3 separate regions of the Homo sapiens genome follow, and all the other regions are linked to region 3. The links are contacts of gene promoters, found by promoter capture Hi-C in blood cells and fetal thymus (Javierre and others, 2016). All regions are on one chromosome and are shown on one strand. The core of a region is centred on a gene start or on the middle of the fragment in contact, and the rest is flanking DNA. Distances in the headings are between cores, read along the strand shown.

Evidence for each region. Contacts are between HindIII fragments. The CHiCAGO score rates a contact against its expected background, and 5 or more counts as called.
Region 1: a contact is called between a fragment that was not itself captured here and the fragment with the promoter of MOGS in region 3, in 9 of 17 cell types (total B cells, erythroblasts, naive B cells and 6 more). The highest score is 8.0, in total B cells.
Region 2: a contact is called between a fragment that was not itself captured here and the fragment with the promoter of MOGS in region 3, in 14 of 17 cell types (neutrophils, total B cells, naive B cells and 11 more). The highest score is 10.5, in neutrophils.

What each region holds. Positions count from the first base shown.
Region 1 is chr2:74,573,119-74,577,822 of GRCh38, reverse strand. It overlaps M1AP (meiosis 1 associated protein), which reads left to right. Exons shown (of 11, transcript NM_001321739.2): 6 at 1,205-1,367; 7 at 2,244-2,385. Among named protein-coding and RNA genes, the nearest start is that of DOK1, 21 kb to the right of the region's middle. RefSeq lists an enhancer at 159-338. The HindIII fragment of the contact is 515 bases long and covers 2,629-3,143 here.
Region 2 is chr2:74,589,149-74,594,208 of GRCh38, reverse strand. All of the region lies in intron 4 of M1AP (meiosis 1 associated protein), which reads left to right. Among named protein-coding and RNA genes, the nearest start is that of DOK1, 37 kb to the right of the region's middle. The HindIII fragment of the contact is 4,982 bases long and covers 663-5,060 here.
Region 3 is chr2:74,464,031-74,468,901 of GRCh38, reverse strand. MOGS (mannosyl-oligosaccharide glucosidase) reads left to right here and starts at 3,520. Exons shown (of 4, transcript NM_006302.3): 1 at 3,520-4,006; 2 at 4,180-4,406. The coding sequence starts at 3,655. RefSeq lists silencers at 1,246-1,540, 3,734-3,953. The HindIII fragment of the contact is 14,256 bases long and covers 1-4,871 here.

The DNA of each region.
Region 1 (4,704 bases), core at 1,637-4,136, 110 kb before region 3:
GCTGTCCAGTCCTAAAGCCTCAGGACCGGAAATGGAGAAGTCAGGCACAGAGGAAATAAGAGGAAGCTGGAGTCCTAGGCAAAGTCCCTCCTACTGACTTCCTGTGCTCTGGGACATGTCAGGCTGAGGGCCGTCTCACCCAGAATGAATGTCTTATTCACAATGTCTAATGTGATAAGACCTAATGTCTAGGTCTTATTCACAGGGCCCAGGAGGGCCAGCTGGATCTAACATCTGTTCTGCCACTCTATTTTTTTCTATGTTGTTTTTTACCTCATATTGCAGTTAGTACAGTCATTTCACAAGTCACTAGCATCAACTACCAGCCTTCTCAGAAGTACTCAACATTTGTATATTCACAAGTTTGTTATCACTATTCAAGCCAGGTATACGTTTTATTGAAGAACTTTGTAATATCAAGGATTTAAGCTTGTGTAACAGATCATCATACACTATGGCATATGCAGTTACCTACTGGAGCAGAAGCTTAATGCAGAAGAGTAAAATACCTAGATGAGTAACTCCTACCTAGCCTAAGCATTCCTCAGAACTGTTGTCTGATGCCACTGTGATGCTCCAAGGCCCAGAAGGTCCTAAATTCATGTTTCTTTGGGGAATTAAAAAATAAGCTATTTCAGGAACTTATTCCTTTCCCCCCACTCTGAATGTCCCTGAACGAGCCCACAGAGAAACAGTAGCAGTCATCTGACTGCCTGACTTCTGCTTTACTGCTCTTCCTTCATCTGACCTGCACTGTTGCCAAAGCTTAGCCACAAGGAAGCAGCAGAAGCAAGATTTCCTTCTGTGATTGCCAAAGGGCCTCTGCATATTTTGGCATTAGCTACCTCCTCCACAGAGGATACATGTTCCTCAGACTGGATCACAAGCCAGATGTCTCACTATGAGACAACTGCTCAGCCAGCCCAGAAGTAAAACAAGTAAAGATCATGTCAGACTCTTGAAGATAAGTTAACTTTTATGTAGAGCGATAGAGATACTATAGCTTCCAGACCTGTTCTCCCTTTCCAAACCAGTCAGGCTTTCCTCTTTCCACTCTCCTGCCTCCTCCTATCCCTTGCTTGCCTGGTAGAGATGGAATGGGTAGCAGATGTTGTCTCTTAATGGCATAGCCTAAGGTAACTTATTACCCACAATCCTTCCTCCAATTGTAGTGTGTCTGAAATGTAATCTCCTTTTATTGTAGTGTGTCTGAAATGTGATCTCCAAGAGCGACTGCTCTGCCCATCCCTACTCGCTGGCACAGCTGACGGCTCCTTGAGAATGGATGACCCTAAAGGAGACTTCATCACACTCTACCAGATGGCTTCCCAGTCATCGGCCTCTCATTACAAGCTCCAAGTGATCAAGTATGGTCCAAGGGAACCTCCCCAATCCATGCAAATGCTATTCTTAGTGGTTCTGTGGCTAGGAACTCCAGAGATAGATGGTATCTCTTAAGTGTCAGGCAGGCAAGAGTCAGTTCCGAAGTAGCAGTTACAGCTATGGCATGAGGAAGCAAAGACAGGCTACTCAGCATGTGGAGGCCAAATGTGCAGATGGTGGGAGAAGCGCTGCAGTAGAACACTCTGAGGTCTGCATGAGGATTGTTTTTCTTTTGACTCATTAAAAAGGTGTTTATCCATTTAGTAAATGTTTATTGAATAGCTACTTTGTTTAGGCATCAAGACAGAGATCCAACCTTCAAGGAGTAAGTGGTACATAGGATCTACCCCTGCCCCCTCCCATTTCTCTAAGTACTAGAATTCCTTCTTCCAGGAGAACCAATTGTAGGATAGAATTAGCAGACTAGGCACGGTGGCTCATGCCTGTAATCCCAGCCACTCTGGGAAGCTGAGGCAGGAGGATCGCTTGAGCCCAAGAGTTCAAGGCTGCAGTGAGTTAATTGAACCACTGCACTCCAGCCTAGGTAACAGAGCAAGCCCTTATCTTGAAAGAAAAACAAAACAAAACAAAAAAACACAATGAATTAGCAATAATGGCAGAGTCTGCTTCAACTCTTCCCAGTTCCTACCACTGTGCCCATGCACAGGTTCCTGAACTTTGACAATCTTCTGTGTGCTAGATACTATGCTAGATGCTGGCCATACAAAGATGCATAGTTCACAGACACTAATTTAAAAGCTTTCACAGTACTGTCTTAGAGTTAAGCTGAATTGAAGTGGATCTAGGTGGAGGTTCTAGATATCACTAAGGAGTCTTTGACTGTAATTATCTCTTCCTAGGGCTTTAAAATCTAGCGGGCTCTGCGAGTCATTGACATATGGACTCCCGTTCATCCTCAGACCTACAAGCTGTTGGCAGCTGGACTGGGATGAGCTGGAGACAAATCAGCAACATTTCCATGCTTTGTGTCACAGCCTGCTGGTGAGTACCCATGTCCCCAGGTGAAAAAGAAGAATCGTTTTTAAAGTACCAACCACAGAAAAGCAGCTAACTAACTCTGCCCAATCCTAAATCTGCCTCAACCCTCAAGAAGACAGAAAAAACTGGAAATACTCTGAAATTTGGAGTAAATATGACTTGCCTTTTGTTGGTTTCATGCTATAGAGAATAATTCCTGAATTCAGTTATACAACACTAAACTTGAAAATCCCCGATTGGCAAGCTTAACATTTAAATGGCAACAGGGAATTTTCCGTACGTACCTGTATTTTAAAACCTACTTCCTTCCTAACACTGATAGACGTTATGGTTCATTTAAATGAAGAGCATTTAGTCTATGCCAGACATTGTGTCAAGCCCTAGATATATATTCTGTAGTGACCTAAAAGACATTACCTATGACCTTAAGAAACCCACTCTCCAATGGAAGAAACAGAAATGTATATATTCTTAATTATGAGAAGTTTATAAAGGAAAAGAAAAAGCTGCTATAAGAAAGCCTGTCTATAGAAGTGACATTTAAACTAAGACCTACAAGATAAGTGAGAATTAACCAGGTGAAGGGTGGCAGGCAGAGCATTCCAGGTGTAAGGAAAGGCATGTGCAAAGACCCTAAGGCTGGAAAGAGCTGAGAGAAAAATCAAGAACAGAAAAGCCATTGTGACTGAAACAGGGAGGAAGGGAGAGAGTGACAAAAGGTAGGGTTGGAGAGGTGAGCAGGGGTCAAATCATGCAAAGCTTTGTAGGCCAAATTAAGGATTTGGACTTAGGGAAACAAATCATGAGAAATAACATTATCTATTTCAGTTTTTAAAATATTACTTGGGCAGAAATTTGGAAATGAACTCGCAGAAGCAAAAATGGAAACATGAAAATGAGCTAGGAGGGTATTGCAGTAGACTAGTCAAGAGACCGTGGTGGTTTGAACTAGAACATTGGAAGTCAAGATGAGATGAGCAAACCAATTAGAGAAATATTTTAGAATCGCTTCTTGGCCTTTTAGCTATGACCAAGTGTAGAAATATTTTAGAGAGAAGATTGTCAGAACTTGGTTGAGAGATTGGATATAGGGAGTGAGAAAGAGGAAGTATCAAATAACTGCATGGTTTCTGACTTGAACAACTAGATGGATGTCATTCCCTGAAATGGAAAAAATAAAAGCAGTCACATGAAACTAACACAACACTTAGCAAAATTAAAACAACTGCAAATAGAATGCAAGGACAGATATAGAATAAAGGTTTGACTTAGTAGGATGATCAGGACAGCACAGCAATGCATCTCTTTCACTATCAGAAGCAGACTTCTTTTTTTCCTGTTTCGAAGCCCGCACTCCCTTTTAGGTCCACCCACTGAGTTCCTGTTTCCTGTCTGAAGAACACCCATCTCCTGTCTTTGCAGAGCAGAGACAACGGAGCCGTTGTAACTGTTAGTGCCCAACAGCTCAGTTTACTATTTACTCCACCCAGTTCCTCAGAATCTGAGATGATACATCACATGGGAGGAATTTCTCCCAGGTGGCTTCAATACATTCTTACAGTATTTGATATTTTAAACATACATTGACATTTTAATACACTGCTAGAGAGGATGTAAATTTTCCGGAAAATGATACCCTTTCCTTTTGCTGGGAATGTAGCCAAAGAAGACAGTCAGGAAAGGGATGAAGATATATGTACCAGCATGTTCATCTCGGTGTTATTTACAGTGGTGAAAAATTAGAAACAACTCAAATGTCCTAAGTAGGGGAAAAGTTATAGGAACTATAACCTGGTGTGGTGACTCACGTCTGTAATCCCAGCACTTTGGGAGCCCAAGGCAGGTGGATCACTTGAGGCCAGGAGTTCAAGACCAGCCTGGCCAACATGGTGAAATCCCACAGCTACTAAAAATACAAAAATTAGCCAGGCATAGTGGCACGCACCTCTAATCCCAGCTACTCAGGAGGCCGAGACATGAGAATCACTTGAACCCGGGAGGCAGAGGTTGCAGTGAGCCAAGATCGCACCACTGCACTCCAGCCTGGGCGACAGAGCAAGACCCTGTCTCAAAAAATAGTTATAATAGGCTGGGCACGGTGGCTCATACCTGTAATTCCAGCACTTTGGGAGGCCGAAGTGAGTGGATCACAAGGTCAGGTGTTCGAGACCAGCCTGGCCAACATGATGAAGCCCTGTCTCTACTAAAAATAAAATAAAATAAAAAATTAGCTGGGCGTGGTGGCAGATGCCTGTAATCCCAGCTACTTGGGAGGCTGAGGCAGGAGAATCGCTTGAACCTGGGAGGCGGAGGTTGCAGTGA
Region 2 (5,060 bases), core at 1,904-4,403, 130 kb before region 3:
GTGTTATAAAGACTCTGGATTCTATTATATTGCTCTGAAAAGTGTTGATTTTTCAGAAAATTAACTTTGTTAAACTCAAACTGCAACCTGTTGTGCCTGCAGTGAGCAGGGACTCAGATCTTAGTCTCAATCTTTAAGCCTAAACTATAAGCTGCTTTCAGTTCACCCCATATGTGTATAGTGCAAGGTCCAATCAGCTATTTACCTAGACTGAGTTTAAACACATAATTTAGGGCGCTCCGGCTCTGGCTCTCTCCTTTCATGGATTTCTTCCTCACTCTCTGGAGGTCCTGGTTGCCCCAGACTCCTTACCCTGGCAATGCTAGTGAAAGACAAAGGCTTTTCTTTCCAATTTTTAGCTGCCTTCACACTATTGTGACTGCAGCCACTCTTAGAAAGTGCAAAAACTGGGGAACTCATTCCTTGCTGGTTTACTTGGTTACTCCAAGTTTCAACTCCTCTCCAAAGTCTGTCTACTTTTGTTCATTCTGCAGAGCCTTCAGGTAGTTGATTTTTAAATATTGTTCAGGCCAGGCATGGTGGCTCACACCTGTAATCCCAGCTCTTTGGAAGGCTGAGGCAGGCAGATCACTTGAGGCCAGGAGTTCAAGACCAGCCTGGCAAACATGGTGAAACCTTGTCTCTACTAAAAATACAAAGCTTAGCCAGATGCAGTGGTGCACACCTGTAGTCCCAGCTACTCAGGAGGCTGAGGCATGAAAATCACTTGAGTCTGGAAGGTAGAAGTTGCACTGAGCCAAGATTGCACCACTGTACTCCAGCCTGAGTGACAGAATGAGACTCTGTCTCAAAAAATAAATAAATAAATGAATAAAATATTGTTCAGAGTTTATAGCTGTTTTTTACAAGAAAATCAGTTTGTTGGGTACTGGAACCTAACCAGACTGGAATTCCCTTATTTACTCTTTTTCAATTTGGTTCTTTCTTTTTACCTCCTTTTCTGCCTTCTCTTCAGCTCAATAAGCTCACGTTCTCCATCATATCTCTCACTCTCTCTCTTTAGGAGATTTTTGCTTAAAAGAAGTTCTTCTGATTAAATCTCACCTTTTCTCTCCTCATTCCCCATCCCCTAACACGTTTGACAGCACTGCTTTACTTGGCAAATGACTTGTGTTGCCACTACCCAATCTGGGGACAATCTGGCCACTTTCTATCTGAAATCAGCCCCATCATATACCCAGCACTAGAGCATTAGTTAGTACAGTGCAAGAATTGATTGGGACACAGCTATATACATATTCAAGGTCCAGAAATAGGCACGAATATAGATATTAATTTAGCATAGGATAAAGGAGACATCTCAAATCACTAAGGCAAAGATGAACTTGCTCAAAAAGTAATGCTGGGACAACTGGTTTAGCCATCTGGAAAAGATTCCAAATGGACCAGGGATCCAAATGTAAATAATAATATTAAAAGTATTAAAAGAAAACATTGGTGAATTTCTTTACAATCTCAGCATAGATAAAGGTCATCTAACTATGACTCAAAATCCAGGTACAATAAAGAAAGATTTATTTATTTAACTATATGAAAATAAAAATCTTTGGCATGGCAAAAAGTACCATAAACAATGTCAAAAGACAACTGAAAAACCAGGAGAAAGTATTTGCAATTTATGCCATGGGAGAAAAAAAAGACTAATATCTCTAATATATAAAGAACACTTTAAAACTGAGGAGTAAGAAAAAGACCAAAAACACTAGAGAAAAATGGAAAAAAGTCATAAACACATAATTCAAAAAAAGATTTTTAAATGGTCCTTAAACATGTGAAAATATGTTCAACCTCACCCATAATTAGAGAAATGATAATTAAGACTATACCAAAATATTATTTCCTACCTATTATTAGATTGGCAAAAGTTAAAAAGTATGACACCAATAGAAGTGGCATGTGTTTATTTTTAAACACAAAATTACCTATGTGTTTTACTTCTATCCCTAGAAGTCACCAGCCCCACTTCTAGGAATCTAATACCCTGAAGATACACCCCCAGATCTACAAAAATGCATGTATATACACAGAGTCGGTTGCAAAGCTATTATACAGTCTATCTAGGATTTTTTTAAGAATATGTCTTAGGTCTGGGCTCAGTGACTTATGCCTGTAATCCCAGCACTTTGGGAGGCCGAGGTGGGTGGATCACTTAGGTCAGTAGTTCGAGACCAGCCTGGCCAACATAGTGAAACCCCTTCTCTACTGAAAAAAAATAAAATAAAATAAAATAAAAAGTTAGCCAGGCGTGGTGGTGGGCGCCTGTAATCCCAGCTACTCAGAAGGCTGAGGCAGGACAATCACTTGAACCTGGGAGATGTAGGTTGCAGTGAGTTGAGATCACACCACTGCACTCCATCCTAGAGGACAGAGTGAGACTCTGTCTCAAAAAAATAAAAGAGTATGTCTTAGGACTTTCTTTGATTTGAGCGTCTTCTTTAGCTTTTCCTTACTCTACTTAGCTCCCCCAAGTAAGTCTTTTCTTTCATGGCTCCACTTACATTTATTTTCACCTCAAGGCAGCTCTTTCTTTCAGTTCCCTTAGGTGTAAGGAGTCAAAACTGCTTGGTGTGGTTCTTGGGTCATGTCAAAAGATTTAACGCCTTCCTAACTCTGCTTTCTTCTTAATTCAAACTTCTCCTAAATAACCCATTCCCCTGCTCCCTCCCCCACCACAGTGCCTATGACAATATTTCTTCCCAGCTTTTCAATTTTGCATTGCAATTTACATTAAATGCTTTTTGGTTTATAGAATATATGTATTAGTCCCTGTAGAAAAAGAAGACTTTTAAAATACCTTCTAAGTCTAATGTTTCTCACGTCAAAAAATACTTCAGACTTTGGAATATTTCAATCAATAGTGATCAATCTCTTTTGCATATAAGCTGCATTTTTCCAATAAAATGAAAATGAAGCCATTGAGACCCATAGATAAAATATATTTTCTTACAACTTAGATCTTTATTGAAGAGAAAATTTTCAGCAAAAGAAATGGCACTGGCTTTTAGTGAATAAAATGTTCATATCTACTACATAGACAGCTGGGAGGCGGCTTTATACTCTATCATCCCTTATAGTTGCATGGTGCTTTAAAGTCCACAAATTGCTTTCAGGAGTCAAGTGTCATTATTTCATTTTCAAGTAAACCCTTAGCCTAGGTATCACTATCATTCCCACTTTACAAATGGAGAAATTGAGCTTAAAGAGATGAAGTGACTGGCCTAAGGTCACAGAGAAAGTAAGCACCAGGCTGGCTAGTTTCTTCTGTTCAATATAACGTTTACTGAGCCCCTGTTGTATGTAAACACTGCGCTAGTGCTGTGGGTACAGAGGTAGATAAGGTGCTACAACTGGTGCCAGAGGCAGGTATACCCTGCCTTAACCAGGGCCCTTCTCTCCCGTACCTGCAATAACTTCTCTCTGGACTGTCTAGGGCAGAGCAAGTCACTCAGTTCAAAGTGGGATTGGCAATCCGGGAACACTTCCGTGGCTCCAGAGGTGAGGGGTGCAGTGCAGCTTCTCTCATAGGGCAGTCCCCACTTCTGCCCTCTTAGAAACACACAAGCCTAAGAAAAAGATTATAAAAAGGCTACTCTCCCAGCCAAAATAATTGCTCTCTAAACTTTTTCTTACCCAATTCATCTGTTTACTAAAGGCTGAAATACTACATTTGAAATTGTAGTATTTGGGACCTATCTTAGAGCTAAGGGAGTCTGCTATGGTCTGAATGTTGTATCCCGCCCCCGCCCCCCCTAAAATTCATCTTTGAAATCTAATCACCAAATAGATAGTATTAGGAGGTGGGGCCTTTGAATGGTGGATTAGGTCATGAGGGAGGGCAGAATCCTCCTGAATGGGATTAGTGCTTTTATAAAATGTTCCCTAAGGAGCTTGTCTGCCCCCTCCACCATATGAGGATACAGTGAGAAGGGGCCATTTATCAACCAAAAACAGGTCCTCCCCAGACATTGAATCTGCCAGCACCTTGATCTTGGACTTCCCAGCCTCCAAAACGGTGAGAAATATATTTCTGTTGCTTATAAGCCACTGGTTTGTGGTATTTTGTGATAGCAGCCCAAATAGAACCCACTATTCCCTAGTCAGAAATTATGTAAATCAAGTTTGTCCAACCTGCTTCCCGCAGGCTGCATGCAGCCCAGGACGGCTTTGAATGCAACCCAACAAAAATTCGTAAACTTTCTTAAAACATTATAAGATTTGTTTTTAAGCTCATCAGCTATCATCAGTGTTGATGCATTTTATGTGTGGCCCAAGACAATTCTTCCAATGTGGCCCAGGGAAGCCAAAAGATTGGACACCCATAATATAAATCATCCATTGTGAACCATTAGTTCTTTAGTTAACAGTCAATTATTTTTTTCAGCCTGCCTTAGACTATATTAGCTTGATGAGGGCAGGTGAATGGACAACTGCTAACAATAGAATTCCCTGGGTAGCTGACCAGAGCTGGGAAAGAGGCATGTCCACTACAGGCTGAAGGATCTCTGCTTGAGCTCTGCTCATGGAACTCCCAGATTCCTCTTCCCTCCTTCCCCACTGCCTGCCAGCACCACACAACAGGAAAGCATAAGCGGTAAAGCTGGGCTGGGACATGTGGCACCTTACACAAGCTGATAGCTTGGGCACACCTTCAAACAAATATTTTTAAAATGCTAATTCAGTAGTTGTTTAGAAGCTAAGAGCTACAAAGAAAAAGAGAAAGAAAAAGGAACTTGCTTTACTCTGCCCCACTCTTGCACAGTTCCTGAGCAATACCAAATTGCAATAATGGAACCCACCCTTCTTCAAAGCAAGTGTAGTGACCCCTGTTGATACATGAGTGTGCCACTTTGGGGGTCTTGTCCTTCACCCCAGCAGCTTATTAGCTAGTCCTCACTTCCTTCCTTATTCTGCTTTAGTCTTCTGGCTAATCCCCCAACACAAAAAGCTCATTCCCATCTCAAGACCTTTGAACTTGCTCATCTCTCTATAAGAAACAATCTTCGCACAAATGTTTTTATGACTCACTTCACGTCATTCAA
Region 3 (4,871 bases), core at 2,271-4,770:
CCTGTAATCCCATCACTTTGAGAGGCCGACGTGGGCGGAATCACCTGAGGTCAGGAGTTCAAGACCAACCTGACCAACATGGTGAAACCCCATCTCTACTAAAAATACAAAAAATTAGCCGGGTGTGGTGGCGGGCACCTGTAATCCCAGCCACTTGGGAGGCTGAGGCAGGAGAATTGCTTGAACCCGGGAAGTGGAGGTTGCAGTAAGCCGATAGCACCATTGCACTCTAACCTGGTTGACAAGAGCAAGGCTCCATCTCAAAAAAAAAAAAAAAAAAAATCAGACTGCATGGCACTTAGAATAGGAAGTTTAAAGAGATTAAGTCATGCTTTGTCACCCAGGCTGGAGTGCAGTGGCACAATCGTAGCTCACTGCACCCTCCATCTCCTGGGCTCAAGCAGTCCTCCCGCCTCAGCCTCCCAAGCAGCTGGAATTACAGGCGTGAGCCACCATGCCTGGCCTAATTTTTTTTTTTTTTTTTTGAGATGGAGTCTTGCTCTGTTGCCCAGGCTGGAGTGCAGTGGAGCACGATTTTAGCTCACTGCAATCTCTGTCTCCTGGGTTCAAGCGATTTCCAGCTAATTTTTGTATTTTCAGTAGAGACAGAGTTTCACCATGTTGGCCAGGCTGGTCAGGAACTCCTGACCTCAAGTAATCCACCCTCCTTGGCCTCCCGAAGTGCTAGGATTACAAGAGTAAGCCACCGTGCCCAGCCCTAATTTTTTTTTTTTTTTTTTTTTGAGACGGAGTCTTGCTCTGTCGCCGATGGTGCCATCTCAGCTCACTGCAACCTCTGCCTCCCGGGTTCAAGTGATTATCCTGCCTCAGCCTCCTAAGTAGCTGGGATTACAGGCGCGTGCCACCATGCCCAGCTAATTTTTGTGTTTTTAGTAGAGGCGGGGTTTCACCATGTTGGCCAGGCTGGTCTTGAACTCCTAACCTCAGGTGATCCACCGCCTCAGCCTTCCAAGGTGCTGGGATTACAGGCGTGAGCCACCACACCCGGCCAACCCTAATTTTTAAATTTTTTGTAGATGGGGGGGTCTCCTCATCTTGTCCAGGCTGGTCTAGAACTCCTGAACTCAAGTGATTCTCCTGCCTTGGCCTCCTAAAGTGCTGTGATTACAGACGTGAGCCACCACACCCAGCTAAAAGTATTCTTTTAGGTAACTTGTTTTAAATAAGTTGTGTGTGTATGTGTATCTGCACATACTGGGTTGCACTATGGAATTATTTCTTATTGTGAGTTGTAGGAAAATGGTTGAAAGCCACTGCTTTAGACACCTTCACAATGCTCAGCTAGGTAACAAAAGATCTGTAGACAGTGGCCTGCTGTGTACTTTGCCAGATACATTTCCCACGACCCTCCTACAGCAGCATTACTATACCTTTTCCCGGTCTAAAAGGGTGCTATCTTCAAAGGACCGTTTTTCCCCTCCCCCTTTAAAAAAGAAAGCTAGGAGGAGGCAGTATAGTGTTGTAATGAGCCAGACTGCTTGGGGTTGAGATCCTAGCTTTGTTTTTATGTAGCTGTATGACTTTAGACAAATTATTTAATCTATCAGTGCTTATTTCATTTGTAAAATGAAAATAATAGTACTTTTCTCATAGGACTGTTAAGGAGATTAAATGAATTAATATCTGTAAAGTACCTAAAACATTGCTGGGAGTGTAGTAACTGCTGTTATCTAAGAGGCCTTATTTATTCTTTTTTTTTTTTTTTTTTTTTTTTGAGACAAGAGTTTCGCTCTTGTTGCCCAGGCTGGAGTGCAATGGCACAATCTTGGCTCACTGCAATCTCTGCCTCCCGGGTTCAAGTGATTCTCCTGCCTCAGTGTCACGAGTAGCTGGGATTACAGGCATGCACCACCATGCCCAGATAATTTTGTATTTTTTAGTAGAGACGGGGTTTCTCCATGTCGGTCAGGCTGGTCTCGAACTCCCAGCCTCAGGTGATCCGCCCGCCTTTGCCTCCCAAAGTGCTGGGACTACAGGCTTGAGCCACTGCGCCTGCCCTAAGAGGCCTTATTCTAAAGTCAAAAGAACAACCTGGATTTGAGTTCCCCAGCTCCATAATTAACTGGCTGTTATTTTGGGTCAGTCTTAACTACTCTCCTCATCTGTAAAAATGGGGGTGGTCTGGCCAGGCGCGGTGGCTCACGCCTGTAATCCCAGCACTTTGGGAGGCCGAGGTGGGTGGATCACCTGAGGTCAGGAGTTCGAGACCAGCCTGGCAAACCTGGTGAAACTCCATCTCTACTAAAAATACAAAAATTAGCTGGGCGTGGTGGTGGGCACCTGTAATCCCAGCTACTCGTGAGGCTGAGGCAGGAGAATCACTTGAACCCTGGAGGCAGAGGTTGCAGTGAGCCGAGATCATGCCATTGCACTCCAGCCTGGTGACAGAGCGAGACTCCGTCTCAAAAAAAAAAAAAAAAAAAAAATGGGTATGGTTCAACATGCATTGAGTGCTGGCATTGTGCTTCTAGACTGTGAACTTGAGGTTGGGGCCATTTTCTCTGAGTCCCCAGCACCTTGCATAATGCGATATAGGGTGTACAATAAACATGTGTTGAATTTATAAATATTTAGCATCTGCCTTATGCCTATAATTGATTAGTACTGTGATACAAAGATGAAAAATGAAACAGGTATGTAATAAGTGCTACAATAAGGATGTCGACAAATGCAACGGTAGCAAGAAAGACAAAAACAGGACTAACCATTGGGTTTGGTCAGATGATTTCATAAGCAAAAAGTCTACCACTAGTGGAGAGTGGGGCCACCAGTCAGATTATAGTGAAATATAAGTGGTCGTGTTGCATAAAGCATCAGTCTCTCTCTCTCTCTCTCTCTCTCCCTCCGTCCCTCCCTCCCTCCCTCCATCTCTCTCTCTCTCTCTCTTTCTTTTTTTTTGAAACAGTTTCACTCTTGTTGCCCAAGCTGGAGTGCAATGGCGCAATATCGGCTCACTGCAACCTCCGCCTCCCAGGTTCAAGCAATTCTCCTGCCTCAGCCTCCCGAATAGCTGGGATTACAGGCACCCACCACCACACCCGGCTAATTTTTGTATTTTTAGTAGAGATGGGGTTTCACCAAGTTGACCAGGCTGGTCTCCAACTCCTCATGTCTGGTGATCCACCTGCCTCGGCCTCCCAAAGTGCTGGGATTACAGATGTGCGCCTCGGTGCCTGGCCACATCAGTCTTTTTTTTTTTTTTTTGAGACGAAGTCTCGCTCTGTCGCCCAGGCTGGAGTGCAGTGGCACAATCTCGGCTCACTGCAACCTCCGCCTCCCGGGTTCAAACGATTCTCATGCCTCAGCCCAACGTTAGATTGGTTTTTCCGAGCCTGTGAACTCCATGGGGTCGCCAGATAAACGCAATCCCGGTGGACCAACGCCCAGGACAGACGCTACGTACCAACCCTGTGTCAAGCCGCAGGCAGCGGTTCCGGACTCTGGGACTTAACCTAACGTGGCGGGGCGGGACTTCCGGCGGGAGGCGGAGGCGGAGGCGCAGGCGCTGGCTGGCAGGTGTCGCTAACCGGACGGTGGTCGCCAGGGCGAGAGGCGGGAGCCGGAGAGGTGAGGCAGGACCCGGGCTCCACTGCCGCCTCTCCGAGCTCTTGTGACGCGGACCTCAGTGCCAGGATGGCTCGGGGCGAGCGGCGGCGCCGCGCAGTGCCGGCAGAGGGAGTGCGGACAGCCGAGAGGGCGGCTCGGGGAGGCCCCGGGCGACGGGACGGCCGGGGCGGCGGGCCGCGTAGCACGGCTGGAGGAGTGGCTCTGGCCGTCGTGGTCCTGTCTTTGGCCCTGGGTATGTCGGGGCGCTGGGTGCTGGCGTGGTACCGTGCGCGGCGGGCGGTCACGCTGCACTCCGCGCCTCCTGTGTTGCCTGCCGACTCCTCCAGCCCCGCCGTGGCCCCGGACCTCTTCTGGGGAACCTACCGCCCTCACGTCTACTTCGGCATGAAGACCCGCAGCCCGAAGCCCCTCCTCACCGGTAACCGGGCCCCAGGGCGGGCAGGCAGGCGGACTCCTAATCTGGGCGCCCCAGCTTGAAGCGAGAGCAAGGGTGGGAAGGAATGGATCAGGAGAGTTATGAAGAGGGATGACCCGGAGACCCGGAGGGACAGGTCCCCTGCTCTTTGACTTACGTGGCCATTCTACCCCCAGGACTGATGTGGGCGCAGCAGGGCACCACCCCGGGGACTCCTAAGCTCAGGCACACGTGTGAGCAGGGGGACGGTGTGGGTCCCTATGGCTGGGAGTTCCACGACGGCCTCTCCTTCGGGCGCCAACACATCCAGGATGGGGCCTTAAGGCTCACCACTGAGTTCGTCAAGAGGCCTGGGGGTCAGCACGGAGGGGACTGGAGCTGGAGAGTGACTGTAGAGCCTCAGGTCAGGGCCTCAGGACACCCTTTTCTCAGCCCAGACCCCCTCCATCCTTCCCTTGCTGCCAGCAAATGCAGCATGAAGTGGGCTCTGGCTGCCTGGCTTAAATCCTGCCTTAAACAACTGCCTGTATAACCATTTCTATTTACCATCTCTAAGCCTTGATTTCCTTGCTTGTAAAATGTACAATGTAGATAATAATAGCACTTAACTCACAGGACTGTAAGAATTAAATGAAAAAGAGGCTGGGCGCGGTGGCTCACGCCTGTAATCCCAGTACTTTGGGAGGCCGAGGCTGGCGGATCACCTGAGGTCAGGAGTTCCAGACCAGCCTGACCAAAATGGAGAAACACCGTCTCTACTGAAAATATAAAATTAGCCGGGCGTGGTGGCGCATGCCTGTGATCCAAGCTACTTGGGAGGCTGAGGCAGGAGAATTGCTTGAACCAGGGAGGTGGAGGTTGCGCTGAG